2 separate regions of the Homo sapiens genome follow, and region 1 is linked to region 2. The links are contacts of gene promoters, found by promoter capture Hi-C in human tissues and cell types (Jung and others, 2019). All regions are on one chromosome and are shown on one strand. Each heading gives the region's core, a stretch centred on a gene start or on the middle of the fragment in contact. The rest is flanking DNA. Distances are from core to core; before and after follow the strand shown.

Region 1 (4,146 bases), core at 28-2,527, 270 kb after region 2:
AGACACTGGGCAAGTCCTATCAGCTCTACTTTGGAACTGCATACCAGTTCTCACCCCTCCATCCTGGCCTGAATCACGCCATCTCTAACTGGCCTCCCTGTCTCCATGCTTGCCCCTGTCATCCTGTTCTCCACCCAGCAGTTGGGGCAATCTTTTAAGAAGGTAAATCAAAGCATATCACTTCTCCCCTCGAAGCCCCAGTAGCTTCCTGCCACGGAGAGTGACATCGCAACTCCCAGGTCCTGCCCACAAGGCCTGCATCCTCCAGGCCTTGCCAGCCTCCCCAGCACCTTCCTTCTCCCTCATTCCCTGAGGCCACCGGAGAAGACACAGGCCTGCTCTTCCCCGATACTGTCCTACACTGCGTCTCTCCCGCTCCCCTGGTTTAGAGCCAGCTGAAGCTTCACCTCCTCAGAGAGGCCTTCCCTGACCACCTTATCTTTTTTTTTTTTTTTTGAGACAGAATCTTGCTCTGTCGCCCAGGCTGGAGTGCAGTGGCGCCATCTCAGCTCACTGCAGCCTCTGCCTCCTGGGTTCAAGTGATTCGTCTGCCTCAGCCTCCCAAGTAGCTGGGATTACAGGCGCATGCCACCACGCCCGGCTAATTTTTTGTATTTTTAGTAGAGACAGCGTTTCGCTGTGTTAGCCAGGATGGTCTCGATCTCCTGACCTCATGATCCGCCCACCTCAGCCTCCCAAAGTGCTGGGGATACAGGCGTGAGCCACTGTACCTGGCCCAGACCGCCTTATCTTAAAACGGCCCCTCCACCATTCTCCTGGGCTTTCTTTTTCTCCCAGGTCCTTATCACTACTCAACATTGTGTGTCATATGGCTTATCAGCCAGTTTGCTGTATTCCCTACTAGAATGCAGTCTCCATGTGGCAAGGACCCCTCTGTCTTGGGATGGCTGCGACCTCTCAGCTGAGGACCATGCCTAGGACAGAGTAGCCCAATATTTGTTGGTGATGGAGTTAAGGCTGGCAGGGAAGAGAAATGAGAGAAAAGGACACAGCTGGACAAGTCCAGAGGGATGCCTGGATGTGGGAGACACGTGGGATACAGTCATGGACTTGGATCCTTGTGCCCACACTTATCTGCTGTGTGACCCCTGGTTAGTCACCCTCTGACACCTAGGTCAAGGAGTTATTGCGGGGACAAATGAGTCAAACTTCATAAACCCCACCCGGGTCAGTGCTTGGAGCAGAGCGGACAAATGCTCAAAACATTTTCGTTGTTATTACTGCATGTTTGTTCCAGAAGCAAGGCACAAATTGGCCTGCCAGGGCCACTGTGTTGATCACGTAACGGTGGACTGTGCTTAGCTGGAAGTTCCCACCATGAAGAGTGAAAATGAAGTGGTTACTAGAATGTGTGAGGGAAGGCACACAAGTGCTGGGAGAGCCCAGCGTGGGAAGAAAGTGCCCTGCCCAGGGGAGATCAGGCCACTCTCAGGAGAAGGGGTCACCAGAAGTTCTTGCATCTTCAGGATGAGGATGGAGGCCAGGCGCAGTGGCTCACGCCTGTAATCCCAGCATTTTGGGAGGCCGAGGCGGGCAGATCACCTGAGGTCAGGAATTCGAGACCAGCCTGGCAAACATAGTAAAACCCCATCTCTACTAAAAATACAAAACCATTAGTTGGGTGTGATGGTGGGTGCCTGTGATCCCAGCTACTTGGGAGGCTAAAGCAGGAGAATCCCTTAAACTGGGAGGTGGAGGTTGCAGTGAGCTGAGATCGCACCACTGCACTTCAGCCTGGGCAACAGAGTGAGACTCTGTCTCAATAAATAAATAAATAAATAAATAAATAAATAAATAAAGCAGTCATGGAAATTTCTCTCTAGTACTCGCCCATACCCCTTCTGGGCCTTTTCGGTACCTAGTGCTGTTCCCTGGCGACTCAAGACAAGAAAAAGAAAAAGCCTTTTGGAGAATCTTCCCCACATCTCCCCGCCCCCACCCTATATTCAGGCCTCTCCTCCCCTCACAACACGAAGCCCTGAACTAGGAGATAGATGGCCCGGGTTCAAGCCCTGCACTGCCTCTGACCCTGTGTTCTTAGCTCCCATATTCTGCCATTTCTCTGTAGAACTTGAAGCAATTTCAGTCCATCACACCCACATCTCAGAAGGGAAAACTGAGGCCTAAAGGCACTGGAGAGACTCACTAAGTGTACACAATGGTGAGAAAGACAGCTGTGGTTTCAGAGCAACTTCTCTGGCCCCCACAGGCTGAGGGACAGGCCTGGTCCTAGTCATAGGGATCAATGCTGCCCTAGGACCTGTGGGTTGGGGGCAACTCACGCGATAGCAGGCATGTAGTAGTCAAACTTGGCCAGGAAGTCTGGAAGGGTGAGCGGCTTGTCCATGCCAATGACGTTCAGCAGCCCCTCTGCTGTGTTAGCTGGGAGGGCGATCCCTCTCCTCCTGGAAACAAAACAGTGAGTGGTGGACCAACCCGGGGCAGGATCCAGGCAGGCCTGACAGGCCAGGATGGAGCAGACTCAGGAGCGCCAGCCTCCTTGCAGGACCACAGCAGGAGACATGGGCGTCTCTCAGTCCAGCTGCTCCCACTGGACAGATGGGGAAACTGAGAACCAGGACCGGAATTTTTCCAGCACCTTCTACCCCCAATGCACAAGTCAGCAAATCTCAAGGGGGATAAACAGGTTGAAGTGTGTGTGTGTGTGTGTGTGTATGTGTGCACACATGCACACACCCCCTCCATATCCTTGGTTGACTGATGCTTGGAGACAAGGAAAGTGCCAGGTCAAGTTCATGGCTTCCTCCTCAGCCCCAGGAGCTGGCTCAGCCAGCTGGTCCTATGCCCAGTCAGGGGTTATCAGGGGCAGTAACTGCAGCATCACAATTCCCAGGGTAGGGGCAGGCATCAGGACTTCACCCTCCATCTGGCTGGCACATCAGAGGCTTGCCCAGCCCAGCGCACTGGGAGAGGGCCGGTGGAGGCTCAGGGGAGGGGCCCAGTGGGCCGCCAGCCAGCTCAGACCTCTCTCCCCTCCCTGCCCACAGCCGCCACACCAAGCTGGACTACAGCAGCGCTCAGTAAGAGCGTGCTGGAAACAGCCCCTCTGGCTTGGAGCCTCCATTTCTCCCCAAGCATCTCGGCCTCCCCTCCCAGCCACGGGAAGCAGGGTGCGAGCTCAGGGGGGCTCCCTCTCTTCTGCACACGCTCCTGCCTCCTCATCCCATCCCGGCTCTGCTCCAGCTCACAAGGTCACCTCGAGCCTCAGTTTCCCCCCCCTTTTTTTTTTAAGATACAACAGCCAGAGAACACCAGACATTAAGAAATGCTTCTAGGCTGGGCATGGTGGCTCACGCCTGTAATCCCAGCACTTTGGCCTCCCAGGCCAAGGTGCGAGGATCATGAGGTCAGGAGATTGAGACTATCCTGGCCAACATGGTGAAACCCCGTCTCTACCAAAAATACAAAAATTAGTTGGGTGTGGTGGTGTGTGCCTGTAATCCCAGCTACTCAGGAGGCTGAGGCAGGAGAATCACTTGAACCAGGGAGTCAGAGGCTGTGGTGAGCCGAGATCATGCTACTGCACTCCAGCCTGGTGACAGAGCAAGACTCTGTATCACAAAAAAAAAAAGAAAAAAAAAAGAAATGCTTCTAACATGAGGGACAAAACAACAGAATAGACAAAAGCACTCCGAGGAAACAGCACAGAGAACAGATGAAAACCTAAGAACCAAAACAAAAAAGACATGAATATCCTCAAAGAGATGAGAAGATCCTTGAAAGGAGGGAACATTCAGAACCCAAGAACGAGCCCTCGGAAATTTACAAGAGAATGCGGCAGCAACTGTCACGATGTAAGAAAAGAACTGGAAGCTAAAAGTGAAGAAATCCTCCACAAAGTAGAACAAAAAGACAAGATGATGAAAAATAGGAGTAAACAGTTAAGGAAATTAGAAGATTAAATCAGGAGGTCCAAGCATCCAATTATCCACAAAGCAGAAGCAGAAAAATAGGAGGCCGGGTGCAGTGGCTCATACCTGTAATCACAGTACTTTGGGAAGCCAAGGCTGGCGGATCACTTAAGCCCAGGAGTTTGAAACCAGCCTGGGCAACACAGTGAAACCCCTTCAAAACAAAAATTCACCAGGCGTGGTGGCGTGCACC
Region 2 (4,178 bases), core at 1,074-3,573:
AGATGGCGCCATTGCACTCCAGCCTGGACAACAAGAGCAAAACTCTGTCTCAGAAAAAAAAAAAAAAAAAAAAGAACAGATTTAATGAAACTTCTTGAATCCCAGTTTTTACATCTGTAAAATGGGAATATTGACAGTGACAATTCAATGACGTTAAGAATATACAATGCTGACAAACTAAAGAGTTCATAAATGCCAGTGGTTGTCATCCTCATTATCCTGGTGCTCAGGAAGGCAATGTGAGACCTGTTGAAATAGCACGGGCTTTGGGGTCAGATGATGCTGAATTCCAGTTCTGTGTTGGCTCCTTCGTAGTTATGTGACCTCATGACGCCACTTCATGCAGGGGGTTACGTACCACTTAAATCTCCAGAACATTTTGGGAAATTGACATAGGGTTAGCAAACCTCCCCCACCCCCATATAAAAATATTAATACTTTTTTTTTTTCTGAGATGGAGTCTGGCTCTGTCGCCAAGGCTGCAGTGCAGTAGTGCAATCTTGGCTCACTGCAACATTTGCCTCCTAGGTTGAAACGATTCTCCTCCTTCAGCCTCCCGAGTAGCTGAGATTACAGGTGCTCGCTGCCACACCCAGCTAATTTTTGTATTTTTAGTAGAGATGGGATTACACCGTGTTGGCCAGCCTGGTCTCAAACTCCTGACCTCAAGTGATCCACCTGCCTCAGCCTCCCAAACTGCTGGGATTACAGGCATGAGCCACTACACCCGACCAAGAATATTAATACTTTTTTTTAAAAAATATCGAAGTTATTTATTTATTTATTTATTTATTTATTTATTTATTTATTTTGAGATGGAGTCTCTCTCTGTTGCCCAGGCTGGAGTGCAGTGGCACGATCTTGGCTCACTGCAACCTCTGTCCCCCTGGTTCAAACGATTCTCTTGCCTCAGCCTCCCGTTTGCCACCATGCCCGGCTAATTTTTTTATTTTTGGTAGAGACGGGGTTTCACCATGTTGGTCAGGCTGGCCTCAAACTCCTGACCTCGTGATCGGTGCGCCTCGGCCTCCCAAAATGCTGGGGTTACAGGCGTGAGCCACTGCACCCGGCCCCAAAATCTAACGTTTGTTATCACTGTTGTTTTAGAAAAGAAAGGACATTTTAATGCAACCCATGCCCATCTGTAGGGGCTGAAGGTCCCTCTGAGGTGATTGATAAAGCTGAAAAAAGAGACTATGGGAAGAGAAGAGGAATATTATCAATTAGCTATTTTAGAAGCAGGGCAAACTATGAGCTAGGTATTCCTATAAGGAAATGAAATAATTTACTAAAAAACATACAGCAAGAAAATAATAGAGCTGGAGTTTTCTGATTTTTCTGAGTCCAGAATTTGTTTCACTGTTCTCATTTCAGCTCTCTCTAACAGGATGAATGACCTTGATTTCAGAATCCCCAAGCAGGTGGTGAGATCCAAAACTGAGACAAAAGAAACGGGGCTGTTCCAAAAAAAAAGCTAGGTGGCAGGTGTCTAACATGCCAGGGAGCTAAAACAGAGTGTGTGAGTTTCAGCAGCAGGTTGAATTTAGAATGGGGAAGGAGACCAGAGGAGACGCCAGACAGGATGACTTTGTCCCATTGGCCTGGAGGCAGCCCCATGTTTCTCCACCCCTCATATCACTCACCAGTTTGTAATAGTATCTTTGAATGACGATCTGATTAAGGTCCGTCTCCTCCATTAGTCCACAAGTTTCGGGGGTACATCTACTTTGCTCATTTCCATATCCCCAGAGTCTAGCACAAGGCCTGGTACATAGTAGGTGCTCAATAAATATGTTAGATGAAAGGAAGATAACACCTCTATGTACTAGCAGTGAGACTCCAGGCATGCAATTTCTCTCTGTCCTTCAGTCCCTTCATCTCAAGGTTTAATTTAAATATGGTAACGCCTGTATGCAACTCCCAGCATCCAGTAGGCACTCACTAAACACAGTTCTCCACCCTCCTTTTTTCCTCTGCCCCTCCCTCGGTTTTCCCACTACTTCCTGCATGGTGACACACCCATAGTTTGGAGCCATAAAACCCAACCCAGGTTGGACTCTCACCTCTCCAGCCCCTTCTGCTCCGGCCCTGTCCTCAAATTGGGGGGCTGATGTCCCCATACACCTGGCTCTGGGTTCCCCTAACCCCAGAGTGCAGGACTAGGACCCGAGTGGACCTCAGGTCTGGCCAGGTCGCCATTGCCATGGAGACAGCAACAGTCCCCAGCCGCGGGTTCCCTAAGTGACTGGTTACTCTTTAACGTATCCACCCACCTTGGGTGATTAGAAGAATCAATAAGATAACCGGGCGGTGGCAGCTGGCCGCACTCACCGCCTTCCTGGTGGACGGGCTCCTGGTGGCTGTGCTGCTGCTGTGAGCGGGCCCCTGCTCCTCCATGCCCCCAGCTCTCCGGCTGGGTGGGCTTGGCCATGGTCAGCGTGAACGCGCCCCTCGGGGCTCCAGTGGAGAGTTCTTACGGTAAGTGGGGCTGGGGGAAGACTGGACAGGGCGGGACTGCGGTCAGCTTTGGGAGGCCATGGGACACCTCCCCGTGTGTTTCTTACGGGCCCAAAGCTCCTCCTGGAGCTCCTCTGGAAGGGCAGGAAGCCCCACGGAGGCAATGTGACCGCTTCCCTAAGCTCTCAAGCCGGGGCATGGCCTGCTTGGTGCGAGAAGTGCTGGGAGGGGCCGAGAAGCCCTGGGGCAGAGGCTTGGCTCATTTTGTCTGTCCAGAGGCCTTCCTGGGAATGCATCTCAGGGGTCTTTCCAAAACCCCACAGAGGGTGGGGCTTGGAAGCACCGTCCTGTTTCGATGCGGGGCAAATTGAGGTCCACCAGGAGAGGCTTGCTGGGCCTAGGTCACGTTGCTGGTGCATTATCAAGCTGGGCGTGGGACCGGGCAGCTCGGTCGCTCCGCACCTCCGTTGGCTCTGGATAATGGGGAGGAGGTAGAAAGCGCCGCGCAGGGTGGAGCGTTGGAAAATGAGAATATCTTGTGCGGACGTGTGAAACTCAGATGCAGGGCTAGAAAGCATGTGTTACTGAGAGTGAAAGGCTCAGGCTCACTCCTTAGGGTGACCCCCACATTGGAAGCAACCCAATGTCCCTCAGCAGAGGGAAGACGGGTAAATAAAGCGTGAGACGTCTTTACAGTGGAATGCTATCCCATTGTTCAAGGAAACAACGCACATCTGTGTGTGACAGGGAAGAACCTCTCAGTTAAATTAAGTGAAAACGGTACACTGAAGAACTGTGTAGTTGCTGATAGCGAAACGGATATAGATGTATATATGTACACACGCGTATACGTGTACATTCCACGCATAGAAAATTCGTGGAATGACACAATAAAATTGGTGACAGGTTTGTTTCTGAGGAGGGAAATTCAAGAGAATGTTTTATCTTTTGGGGACACATTTTGGATTTTTTAAAAGTTGGGTGCCTTTTATAAACCTGTTCAAATCACACACCCGCACAGAACTTGGTCTCTGGAATCCAGCAGACCTCGGGGTCTAGTTGTGACTCTGTCACACGGCTCAACATTCACGTGCCTCTTGCTTTCTTTCTGAAGTGGAGACAGGACTAGGATGTGTCTTAAGATCATGGTGGATGCCGTGGGGAACAAGGATGTAAAGCCCTTGATACCACGTGCATTGCAAAGACACAATCAACATTTATGTCATCAATTGCTGAGGACAGAGGGCCAGGGAATGACAGAATCAGGGCCTGATCTCCTGACTCTAGTCAGGAAGAATCTTCTTTGCTTTGACCCCCATCAAACAGGAATATGTGATGCACTGGAAATGGCAGAGGCTGAAGAAACCAACAGCCTGGGAACCCATCCCACACACCAGCTGTGTGACCTTGGGCAAGACATTTCCCCTCTCTGAACCTATTTCCTCATCTGTAAAATGAAGATAACAACAGGACCTATCTCCCAGAGAGCGGGGAGATTAGAGGAGATAGCATAGAGGAGATTAAGGGTGAGGCCACCCTTAATCCACAATTTTAAGACCTGGAGTATAGATGCCAATGGATGACTTGGTTGAACCTGTGGCTAGGGGAAGACATTGTCTCTCAAAGGGGCCAGACAGCTTCTGGGGAAGGACAGCCCAGGTCATAAGGCTAAGCTAGGGGTGAACAGAAGGCCCCACAGTGTCTCTTAAAGGATGATACAA

What was found. Contacts are between HindIII fragments. The study calls those that stand out against the background at their distance.
Region 1: a contact is called between a fragment that was not itself captured here and the fragment with the promoter of HNF4A in region 2, in 1 of the 25 tissues and cell types used here (aorta).

What each region holds. Positions count from the first base shown.
Region 1 is chr20:44,626,744-44,630,889 of GRCh38, forward strand. ADA (adenosine deaminase) reads right to left here. Exons shown (of 12, transcript NM_000022.4): 3 at 2,304-2,426. Among named protein-coding and RNA genes, the nearest start is that of ADA, 23 kb to the right of the region's middle. RefSeq lists enhancers at 2,261-4,146, 2,498-3,248, 3,249-3,998. The HindIII fragment of the contact is 7,776 bases long and covers 1-4,146 here.
Region 2 is chr20:44,353,376-44,357,553 of GRCh38, forward strand. HNF4A (hepatocyte nuclear factor 4 alpha) reads left to right here and starts at 2,324. Exons shown (of 10, transcript NM_175914.5): 1 at 2,324-2,478. The coding sequence starts at 2,430. R3HDML-AS1 (R3HDML antisense RNA 1) reads right to left here and starts at 1,867. Exons shown (of 4, transcript NR_184036.1): 1 at 1,644-1,867. It overlaps HNF4A-AS1 (HNF4A antisense RNA 1), which reads right to left. Exons shown (of 3, transcript NR_172878.1): 3 at 3,369-4,178. RefSeq lists an enhancer at 1-155. The HindIII fragment of the contact is 37,265 bases long and covers 1-4,178 here.